Linked DNA regions of Homo sapiens: all the other regions are linked to region 1. The links are contacts of gene promoters, found by promoter capture Hi-C in blood cells and fetal thymus (Javierre and others, 2016). All regions are on one chromosome and are shown on one strand. The core of a region is centred on a gene start or on the middle of the fragment in contact, and the rest is flanking DNA. Distances in the headings are between cores, read along the strand shown. Region 1 holds the start of JDP2 (Jun dimerization protein 2). Region 2 has its middle 18 kb from the start of LINC01220. Region 3 has its middle 56 kb from the start of LINC01220.

Evidence for each region. Contacts are between HindIII fragments. The CHiCAGO score rates a contact against its expected background, and 5 or more counts as called.
Region 2: a fragment that was not itself captured here is called in contact with the fragment with the promoter of JDP2 in region 1 in 8 of 17 cell types (monocytes, M1 macrophages, M0 macrophages and 5 more); the score reaches 13.1 in monocytes.
Region 3: a fragment that was not itself captured here is called in contact with the fragment with the promoter of JDP2 in region 1 in 2 of 17 cell types (monocytes and M1 macrophages); the score reaches 8.4 in monocytes.

The regions. Positions count from the first base shown.
Region 1 is chr14:75,426,201-75,429,874 of GRCh38, forward strand. It overlaps JDP2 (Jun dimerization protein 2), which reads left to right and starts at 1,822. Exons shown (of 4, transcript NM_001135048.2): 1 at 1,822-2,052. JDP2-AS1 (JDP2 antisense RNA 1) reads right to left here and starts at 1,455. Exons shown (of 2, transcript NR_184172.1): 1 at 1,270-1,455; 2 at 1-511. RefSeq lists enhancers at 591-690, 941-1,270, 1,291-1,350, 1,318-1,875 and silencers at 1,541-1,810, 2,061-2,240, 2,301-2,470. The HindIII fragment of the contact is 6,934 bases long and covers 1-3,242 here.
Region 2 is chr14:75,310,886-75,314,559 of GRCh38, forward strand. No RefSeq gene overlaps it. Among named protein-coding and RNA genes, the nearest start is that of LINC01220, 18 kb to the left of the region's middle. The HindIII fragment of the contact is 780 bases long and covers 1,710-2,489 here.
Region 3 is chr14:75,348,656-75,352,329 of GRCh38, forward strand. No RefSeq gene overlaps it. Among named protein-coding and RNA genes, the nearest start is that of LINC01220, 56 kb to the left of the region's middle. The HindIII fragment of the contact is 893 bases long and covers 1,497-2,389 here.

The DNA of each region.
Region 1 (3,674 bases), core at 572-3,071:
TTGTGGGGGAAGCAAAGGCCCAGTAGGACTGCTGGTGGCCCAGCCACAGTCCAAAACAGGCCCTAGAGAGGACGCGCTCTAACCACACACCCTAATTATTAGTCCCTGAATATAGATCAGTTTAGTTTATCCAAAGCCCCAGCTGAAGACACATCAAGTACTATTGCCTCTGTTCCATGTTTTGTTCCATATAAACATCCAGACACAGGTCTCATGGGAGAAACATCATGAGGCAGTTTCACAGTCCCTGGCTTTGATCTTTACGCTGTAGTAAAGGTGTCATTGGCCTTTCTGGGGCGAAGAGTCATGCTCTTCCACAAGAGTATCAAATTACTGCTCATTTTCCAATGTATATTCTTTCAGGGCCTTGCTTTCTTCTTACCTGCCCACACCAATGCTGTGAGGGAGACTGCTGATGGCGAAGGTGAAAATGGTCAGGCAATGTCATTGGGACTTGGTCTGTCTCTCCTTCCATTAGCCCACTTCTTTTATCCAGAAAGATTTCACTGCACTGGGGAAATAAGGAGAATAAAGTCTCATGCACTCACTCACATGAGAGAGACATGCATGTTCGGGTTTGCTCAATGGCACCCATCTGTCTCAAGTCTTGTTGTTTCTTTCACTCTGAGCATCTGCACTCCAAGAAGGCATGAACTTTTTCTTTCACTTCCTTTCTTCTATGGGTGATGACCTGACATCACTCTCAGAAGGAGGCCGAAAGTCGCTGAGTATAAAAATCGTCACTCCTATCTGGCTTAGGCAGAAGGTAGGGGGCTCGATGGGTACCCAGGAGCTCTGGAGGTAGGAGATGCCATCTAGGGAACCCCGTTCTACCTGAGGGCTCTGTGTCTCTGCCTTTGTATACTGGAGGGCACCATGGATGTCGCCTTCCCTCTGGAGTCCCCTTCACCATTTCCTCTCTAGAAGGATGGAAGGTGGGAGTGGGGTTGGCTATTGAAGCTGGAACGGGGAAGAAGGCCACTTGGGGTCTGCTGAGGGCTGGGTCTGCTCACTGCTGTGTCCGGAGTGGAAAGGAGAAGCCCGCTGGAGCAGGGTACAAGCCCAAGGGTCAAACTGCGCCAGCAGTAGAGCAAGCCGCGGTCTCAGGCTGCAGCCCTAGCAGAGGTCAGGCTGGTGCAGCCAGCCGTCTCGGGGCCTAAGGGCGCTGGCGGGGGCCGGTGGGTAGGGGTAGGAGTCCCCAAATGCCTTCATCTCAGCCCATCCTTCTCCACCGAAAAATAAAGCAGGCTGGCGAGATCGCCTCCTCACCCGCTCAGTCCTGAAGTGTCCAAGGATGAAACTGTGCGGAAATTCTCCCTGTCGCTCTCAGTTTGTGGGGGAAGCGCCGGGACTGAGGTACATGGTTAACACAGGCTGTGCGTGAAGGGGCTTTTGACTTTTCCCCCGGCTCCGGCCTCTCGCGTCTCTCTCCTAGGGCTGCGGCTGCTGCTGCCTGGCGGGCACAAGCCGGGCGGCGGTGCGCGGGGGGTGCGCTTACATAACCGCTCGCCGCGTCCTGCTTTCTCGAGCGCTCCTGCACCGTGGGGTGGCGGAGCCGGGGGACTGCATGGAACCCGGGACGCCCCCGCGGGGAGAGGAGCGCGAGCGGCCGCGGGAGGAGGGCGCCCAAGGCGGCGGGGGAGGTTAAGGTCAGTGGGTGTGAAGCGCCGGCTCCACACCCCCTCCTCCCCGGTCCCCTCCTTCCCTTCCTCTCCGTCCCCCTCTGACGTCTGGAGCTGGCAGCTCGGCCGGTTCCGCATTCCCGACCCCTCCCCGCCGCCCAGGGGCCGCTATATAGCCGGGGCTGATGCAACCCGTCCCGCCGCCCGCCACAGCCTGCGGGAGGGACGCTCGGCGGCCGCGACGGGGGGCGCTGGCGGCGGCGGACGCTGCAGCGGCGGCGGGGCTGGCGCCGCGGCGGCTCCCGGGCCGGGACAGGCCTGGGCACCGGGCGGAGCTCCGCGGCCGGGCGGCAGCGGCGCGGAGCGGGCACGGCGCCTGCAGCCGGGCCCCGGCCCCGGGGGCGCCGCCTCCCCCCGCACCTTCTGCACGGTGGGTGCGAGGGCGCGCGCTGGGGGCGCCGGGACGGGCGGGGCGGGGCAGGGCGCGGCGCGGGCACCTGGGACGGCCGCCCCCGCACGGGCGGAGCGCGAGGAGCCCCAGCCCAGCCCCGCGGGGAGGCTCCCGCAGCCCAGGGACCTCGAGCTTTCCCCGCGCCGGGCGCTGCAGCCGGGCCCCTCCCGCGAGGCGCCCGGCAGCCTGAGGCTTCCTTTTGGTTCCCGCCCCGGGACGGGAGGCTCCGTCCGCTCCCTGGACAGCCGGGGTGCTCCCTCCTTCTCCCTCCCGCGCTCTCCTCCCCCGTCCGTTTGCAGGGAGGTGCTCTCCTCGGGCGGCGGGGAAGGCGGGGTGAGTGGGGAGAAAAGTGCCCGCGGAGATGGGCTGTGCGGGTGGAGGTGGAGGGTGAAGGGCCAGGGAGGTGCGGGGTTGGGGTCGGGGTTAGATTGTGGAGGGATGACAAGGACCTCCTGGCAGTGAGGAAGCGCGACTCCCGGAGGACCCGGACCCGGAGGAGAGTATTGAGAAGGGCTCGGGATTTCCATCCAATGAAGGCAGCTTCTCTCATGGCCATTGCTTCGGAGCTCTGGGCTGGGAGGGGATCTAGGGGTGGCCGGGGTCCCCTTTGGGCTCTCCTGTCTCCCACGCCAGGTTATATAAGGAGGCAAGCAGGCTCCTGTAGGTAACCAGCCTCTCCCTTGCCCAGCCCAGCTTAGAAGGCTCTCCTCTGCTCCTCCCTTCAAAGGAGGTTGTCGAGGGGTAGGGGTGCAGTGGGGGGTGGGAGAGTGTAGGGGTGGATTGGGCCTTCCACCTGGATCCCTGGACCCTGGGATGGCAGAGCCAGGCTTTGCCTGGGTCAGTAGGAGGAGCAGGGAAGATGAGGAGGCTGGGGAAGATGGGGAGGTCCTGGCTCTTTTGCAGGGATGGAGAGGCTGGTGGAAGGAGAAATCAGCCGACCCCCTTGGGTCATCTCCAGTTGCAAGATGGCGTGGCCCTTGCCCAGGGTGCTGCCCTCCCTGTTGGAATCCAGGGCATGGGGCTATGGCCCGACCACGTGTGCTCAGGGCAAATGTGCTCAGGTCTATATCTCAGAAAGGGCTTGCAGCCTGCTTAGGCGTGTGTACCCAGGCTTAAATCTTGGTGGTCTCTCCCTAGGGTCTTAATTGGAGGAGCATCAGGAATTGGGAAGCTTTGAACCATGTTTGGGTACATTTGTACCCAAACGTCCTTTAAGCCCTTGGTAGAAACTGCATTCGCGTATCATCTCCCTTCCCCCCAACCTTCCTTCCCTGAGGGTTTTAAAAAACACTTCCCATTGCTTTTACCTTTCCAGCAAATCTGGCTGCAGCTTGGATGGATAGCTTATCTTCCTTTGCAGGTTTCTAGGGGAGAGTTTAACCAGGTATCAGGTGTGAGCATGGCTCTGATTTTGTATAAACCTGAGGATCGAGGAAGAGAAGCAAAATCTATTCTCACACCTCTGGGTGGTTAAGGTTTTGCCTTGTTTAGAGCAGGGAGGATGGATTTCTCAAAGACTCTTCTGTTCCCTTCTACTTTGGCTTTGGTTCAGAGCTGCAGGCAGCTCCAGAATCTTCCTGAAGAGCTGGGTGCTGTGTGAT
Region 2 (3,674 bases), core at 850-3,349, 120 kb before region 1:
TTTACCAGCGGGCAGCAGAGCCAGCTTTCTGAGGGGGAAGCCCAAGGAGGGGAGGAGGAGCAGGGGTGCCCCAGGGGAGCCTGCGCTTCTCCAAGTTACAGAAATCCATAGAGAAGGCTCGGCCACTTCCAGGGAGCAGTGCCTTCTCTCAGGAGCTGGGCAGGCAGCCCGGGGGGCAGTGGGCTGGGAGAAGCCGGCCTGAGAGGGACGGAAGTGTCCACTGAACAGGCAAAGAGGCCTCTGGGAAGGCTAGAAGGCTTTCTGGGCAGAACGGATTTGCAGCTGTGTTGGCTTTCTGGGCAAAAGATGAATTGAAGTAAATCACAGAGTGTTTTAAAATAAAAAACTCCCCCAAACCACACACACACACACACACACACACACACACACACACACACGCCAATGGAGGAGAGAGAGGGCTTTGGGAACCTCAGCGGTGGAACACGGAAATACCTTATATTCTTCTCCAGGAGCATTTTTTTTTCTACTCTGATAATGACAACTCAAGTAATTACCTGCAAGACAAGAAGAATGAACAACAGTCAATGCAAAATGTTAGAAAACATCTGCTTTGCAGGGCTTGTCTATCAAAGCCCGACTCTGTGCCTGAATGGTGTTCAGGTCCCTGAAGGTGGGCCGCTTTAGGATATAGACACTCTTTCTGGCCAACGGGCAATATGAGCCAAAACAAATGCAGTGGAAGAAAGAATCTTGGCATCTTCCTCCAGAAATCTTGCTGCAAAAGTGTCTATCACACAGAAGGAAAAATAGCTTATGATTCTACTCATGTGAGCTTCCTAGAGTAGTCAAATTCAAACAGACAGAAAGTAGAGGGGTGATTGCCAGAGGCCGAGGGGAGGGGAAAATGGGGAGTGAGTATTTAATGAGTATGAAGTTTCAATTTGGGAAGATGAAACATTCTGGAGATGATGGTGATGAGAGTTGCACAACAATGCGAATGTACTTAATGCCACTCAACTGTAGACTTTAAAAGTTTCAAACAGTAAACTTTGTTATGTATATTTTACCATAATAAAAATAAATGTGTCTGTCAGTAAAGACTGTCTTCTTGCTGCAGCAGGAAATGGTGTTGGCTTGAAGGCCAGCATCGAGGGCACGTGGGTTCACCTCTTTGAACCTCAGCTGTATCATCCATCAAATGGAACTTACACTATCTTCCTTACTGCCAACTGTGAAGAGTGGATATGAATGCATTTAGTGAACAGAAATGCACCATAAGAATGTAATTTTTTTTTTTTAATTTGAGATGGGGCCTCCCAAAATGTTGGGATTATAGGCATGAGCCACTGAGCCTGGCCAAGAATATAAAATGTGATTAAAGTATTATTTCAAAATTCATTGTTATGGTACCCAAATGCCAAGAGGCAAAAGGAAAGGAGAAAGGGAGAGTTTTGGAGGAAACTAAGGAAAGGGTTATTTATATCTGGCATTTCTAGGAATTGGAAAATACCCAAATACCGTAGGAGAGTTGGAGAGAATTTTGGGCTCGTGCTCAGGGGCCTGAAGGTAAGACCAACTTGGACTATCATGGCAATTTAAAATACTTCTCCCTTTTGCTCTGCCTAAATTGAGAAACAGGTTAAGCCCACCCATCAAGAGGAAATGAAACAAAATGAAATAATGTCAAAACATCACCTCTCAAATTTCATGAAGGGAAATGGTACAGTTACAACACAATGCTGGGTGGAAGCTTATGGGACCTGGAGCCTCCAGGCATGGGTAGAACCCAGGTTCATCACCAGAGAGTCCCATTAACTGTCAATGATTTATTCAATGCATTTCTTTTTTCTATTTAAAGAAATAAGCCATTGGCCGGGTGCAGTGGCTCACGCCTGTAATCCCAGCACCTTGGGAGGCTGAGGCAAGCAGGTCACTTGAGGCCAGGAGTTCGAGACCAGCCTGGCCAACACGGTGAAACCCTGTCTCTACTGAAAATACAAAAATTAGCTGGGTGTGGTGGTGGATGCCTGTAATCCCAGCTACTCGGGTGGCTGAGGCAGGAGAATCACTTGAACCTGGGAGGCGGAGGTTGCAGTGAGCTGAGATCACACCACTGCACTCCAGCCTGGGCAACAGAGTGAGACTCCGACTCAAATAAAATAAAATAAAGAAATAAGCCATTCATCACTACCATCACTTTTATCATTACAAAATGTTTTATTAGCATATATTAGCATGTGGCAAGCACCAATTTAAATGTGGTACACACCTTATCTTTTCATTCCTTGCAAGGTGCAGCTTTTTTATAGATAACAATATGAGACTCACGATTACTGATTTGGTCTTTCTGGTTCTTTGTTTCCTGATTGATAAAATGAGAATAATGTTATAGCTAGAGAAGTTTAGCAGCTTGCCTCAAGTCACAAAGCTGGTAAGTAGTAATGTCAGGATTTCAACCCAAGTTCATCTGACTCCAAAGTTCCACCTTTGAATGCTATACTGCATTGGAGGAAACATTATTGCTAAGAAGCTTATGAAAGAAAATTGCTAATGAATATTATGCTCTGAGAGCAATTAGAATGTGCAATTGGTAAATCGCCTTATCATGGCATTGCATGATGTCACAATGACATGCAATGGGGAAGAACAATGAGCATCATGGGTGTGTATTAGCAGAGATTTGGCTTTAAAATGGAATGAAACCACAAAGTACACAAAGAACAGAGTATGAGGCTGGGCGCAGTGGCTCATGCCTGTAATCCCAGCATTTTGGGAGGCGGAGGCAGGTGGATCACTTGAGGTCGGGAGTTCAAGACCAGCCTGGCCAACATGGTGAAACCCCGTTTCTACTTAATATACAAAAATTAGCCGGGCATGGTGGTGCACACCTGTAGTCCCAGCTCTTCAGGAGGCTGAGGCAGGAGAATCGCTTGAACTCAGGAGGTGGAGGTAGAGGTTGCAGTGAGCCGAGATCACGCCACTGCACTCTAGCCTGAGCGACAGCACGAGACTCCTTCTCAAAAAAAAAGAAAAAAAGGACAACTTATGAAACAAGGCTTTGCTGCTTTATGTATGTGTACTGTGTATGTTTTGTTGAGTACGTGCTGTATGCTGCACGTGTTGCATGTGTATGTGTGTAACGTGGGTGTTGTGTGTGTGTGGTTGCATAAGTGAAGGAGAGTTGCATGATGAGTGATTTCTTCAATACTGAAGGCCGTACAGTCCCACAGCCAACACATAGTGCTTCCTGTGAGCCAGGCATTCCACCCAGTGTTTTACATATAATCCCTCACTCATCTTCACAACAACTTTGTGCGGTAGCTAGTAACAGTATTCTCATTTAGTGGACGAGGAAATGGAGGCTCAGAAGGATCAAGCATCTTGCCCTAGATCACCTAGATGGTACAAGGGAGAGCTGGGATTTGAACCCAGGCAGACTGGCTTCAAATTCTGTGTTTTGGTCTTTTCTTCATTTGTGTCCCTCTCGCCTTGTGAGAAATGATAGAATTATTCTCATTACATGATGGGAGAACCTGGGAACAATGTGAACATGTGTTGGCTCAGACAACAGTCTCAACTACACACTGGGGAAACGTGGGGAGGCAAACTCGTTTCACTGATTTGTCTCCTCTAAAACTTCTCCCTTTGCTGAATCCCACTTTTTTTCCCCTCTCTTTCTACAGGTGTTGATCCCAACTGTACAACCTGAATGC
Region 3 (3,674 bases), core at 693-3,192, 77 kb before region 1:
GAGGTTAGAAACATGGAGATGCCAGCCTTCCCCACATGTCAGTCTGGGAGAAGCATGGCGGAGGATAATCCCAGGAGTTAACTGGCAAAGGAACAAAGGAAGAGGCATGATCACTTGTACTGGGAGTCAAGACCATGCCCTGGGTGATACCCCCTATTCCCCAATAACAAGCAATTAACATTTGTGTGAGGTTCCTATTTTTTAGGCACCTTCCTGTATGTTTGACAAAAAAAGGGTTTTTTTGTTTGTTTGTTTGTTTGTTTGTTTGTTTGAGATGGAGTCCTGCTCTGTCACCAGGCTGGAGTGTAGTGGTGCTTTCTCGGCTCACTGCAATCTCCATCTCCTGGGTTCAAGTGATTCTCCTGTCTCAGCCTCCTGAGTAGCTGGGACTACAGGCACTTGCCACCATGCCCGGCTAATTTTTGTATTTTTAGTAGAGACAGGGTTTTACCATATTGGCCAGGCAGGTCTTGAATTCCTGACCTCAAGTGATCTGCCCGCCTCGGCCTCCCAAAGTGCTGGGATTACAGGCGTAAGCAACCGCACCCAGCCAAGAAAAGGATTTTAAATGGCGAAATAATAATATAGTAAATGTTTTCCTTAGGTTTGAATGAGGTTATACAAGATGGGGTCTTCTTGAGGGCAGGGACCACTTTTTTACTTGCCTTTGCCTCTCTGGTGTATAGCATAACAACTGGGGGATGATTAAGTGCTCAGTAACTGTTTATTGGATGAACGAAGACTAGCAATTGTGTGAGAACCAATGTCATTAAGTTGATACTTAGGGGCAGGTTGAGCAGCTGTGGTTGGGCTGCTTGGTTGAGACAAGGTTGAAATTCTTCAAGATATGGGGCTTATTGAGGGGTTAGGTTGCAGACCAAGCACTCCAGGCTGAGAGGTGATTGCTATGTGTTCACCAACCTCCATTTCCTTTTCCTTTTGGGCACATGGCTAGATTACATTTCCCAGCCTCTCTTGTAGTTTGCTGGGGCATGTGACTCAGTCCCGACCAGTGGGATGCAGGTGAAAGTGCCGTATACCACCTCTGGTCCTGGTTCCTAAAAGTGTCCCCTGTGATCCATCACTCTCTCTGGTCTTTCATCTGCTGGCTGTACACTGAGGATGTAGTGGGGGATTCCAAGTCTTAGGAGATAACAGAGCCACTAGGGAAAGGGCTTGGGTCCCTGAATGACTATATGGAGCAGAGTTCCTCACCTTTGATTTCTCATTGATCTGTGACAGAAGTAAGAAATTAACCTGTATTGTGTTAAGCCACTGAGATTTTTGGTTGTCACAGAGTGGTCATTAGCTACCCTACTACAGGACAACTCATTTTAATCTGGGGAGGGAGAGAGTGGTGCTAAGTATTGCTAGTTATGGCAGAGGCCTGGCTGCAATTTTCCTCCCCTAAACTGAAAACAAACAGATGTGCTCACAGACATAGAGAAGTTAGGAGAGAGAGAACCAATTGTCAGGGAGGACTTGGGACCCTTCTAAGCTTGAAGGTTTTAAGGTGACAGGGATATATCCAAGTGGACGTTCTGTGGGCCGGGCCTGAGATTTAGTTAGAATTTGTCCTCAGAGAAGTGGTCACTGAAGCCATAAGAGAAATGGCCTACTTGAGGAAGAGCTTATGAAGGGAAAATGGTGTGGCATCCAGGACTGAGTCCTGGTGACTTTCCAGAGTTAGAAGATGGCAGGAGGGGGAGGAGGAGCTGGTGAAGGTGCCATCTGAGCAGTAGGAGGAGATGCCTGTAGAGACACACCAGCCAAGGGTGGAGGAAGATTCCAGTAGTAGGTGGGGATCACATACAGAAGAGATTAGACCTTGGATATTGAAGAGACTCAGAAAGGACCTTCCTTCTCCAAGGACCGAGATGAATGGAGAGAAAAGGCCACATGTGAGGGTGGAAATATGGAGGAGATAAGAGGAGAAGCCAACCTTCTCTACAAAATGATAGAGCTGCTGGCTTGTGATTGGCAGGCAATTGTATCATTGTAGCTGGGTGATCTTGCTTTGCTATGGCTGCAAACTGAGCTCTCCAGGCATTGGTCTGAGTGATTTGCACCAGAGGGTGGGGAATAGGGGAGTTGCTTTGGTATTCTGGTGTCTGGAGCTTGAGATAGGGGAGAGAGAAGGGCAAAGGAGGGGTAGCATGAGATCCCTGTGAGCAGAAAGGGGCCAGGACTCAGCTGAACTTGGGCATAATTGCATGACTTAGCTAAATTTGGGTATAACAGCTAATGTGACTTCATCTTGTATGCAGAATCTGGTGAGGTTACACAAGTTAAACTCCACAGTTCCTTTGGTCATATGGGTATATAACACAGGCAGGCTGTTCTACCAGAGAACCCCCCAGTGTGGGTTTGGGCATACTTAATTTTACTAAGCTTTACTTTCTTTATCTGTAAAATGGGCCTTAAATAATTCCTACCTCAAAGGGCAATTGGTAGTATTAAATTCAGTAACATTCAATAGTGCATATAAAACACCTGATGCAGAGTAAAAGACTCAGTGAAAGTAGCTCAGTCTTATTTTATAGCTTGACTTTAGGAGCTCTGACATTTTGCATAGAACTTTGCCTTGTACAAAAAGCTTTCACATATGTTATATCAAATAATCCTTTGGCTCTGAGCTTTCATCCTTTTTTAAAATTCACACAGTAATGGGGGCATGCTGATTTAAAAAATGAAGAAATTCATAGTGGCTCCAAGTAACTTCTTCTAAGATCCAATTCAGTAGGAAAGAGAGCATCTGTTTCCCCACAGACCAAAGTTTAGGCCTGGCTGTCATTGGTTCAGATGGACGGTGTTTCTATCCTCCAACCAGTTGCTGTGGTGAGGAGAATGGAGTGCGTTGATTGGTTGAGTCCTAGGTTTGTGCTCTACTCTGAGGCCAGGAGAGGCCTCCATCTGAAGCTTTGGGAATGGGAGTGGGGTACCATGTTCTGTAGGGGAAATCAGGGCATCATTCCTGAAGATAGCATGAATGGAAGCTGGGTAGCAACAACAGCAGATATTCCTGAGTGTCAATGCTTGTCCAGAAGGGTGGGGTCTCCATCAGGTTCTCCAATCATATGCTTTCCTATTCCTCTAGTACAGAAATGTACCATGAACAGTCTTTGGTTCTCAGCTTTGGGTAAGGGCTGGAAAATCTCACAGCTGCAGCTGCCTTGACATCAGAGAGCGTAAAAGGACAAGGGCCTAGTATACAGAGGGATAAAGGATGTGACCTGGGGTCTGTCACAAACATTTTTAAGGCAGTTATGTGTGCCAGGCTCTGTGTTAAGTGCTTTCCTGGATGAGCCCGTTTTATTATCCTATGGCCAATGCCAAGGTAGGCATTGGCACTAATTTCCACATTGCAGGGGAGAAAACTGAGGCACATTCACAGAGGTTAAGAATTTTTTTTTTTTTTTTTTGTAGAGACGGGATTTCACCATGTTGCCCAGGCTGTTCTTGAACTCCTGCCCTCAAGTAATCCTCCCGCCTCAGCTTCCCAAAGTGCTGAGATTACAGGCAAGAACCTCTGTGCCCGGCTATAAGGGTAAGAAATTTTCCCACTCAAGGACACATGCCAGTAAGTGCCAGATCAAGAATTTGATCTGAATCATTTAATTTTTAGACTTCAAAAGACTGACAACCCAGGAGAAACTGAGGCAGCACTGGCTGTT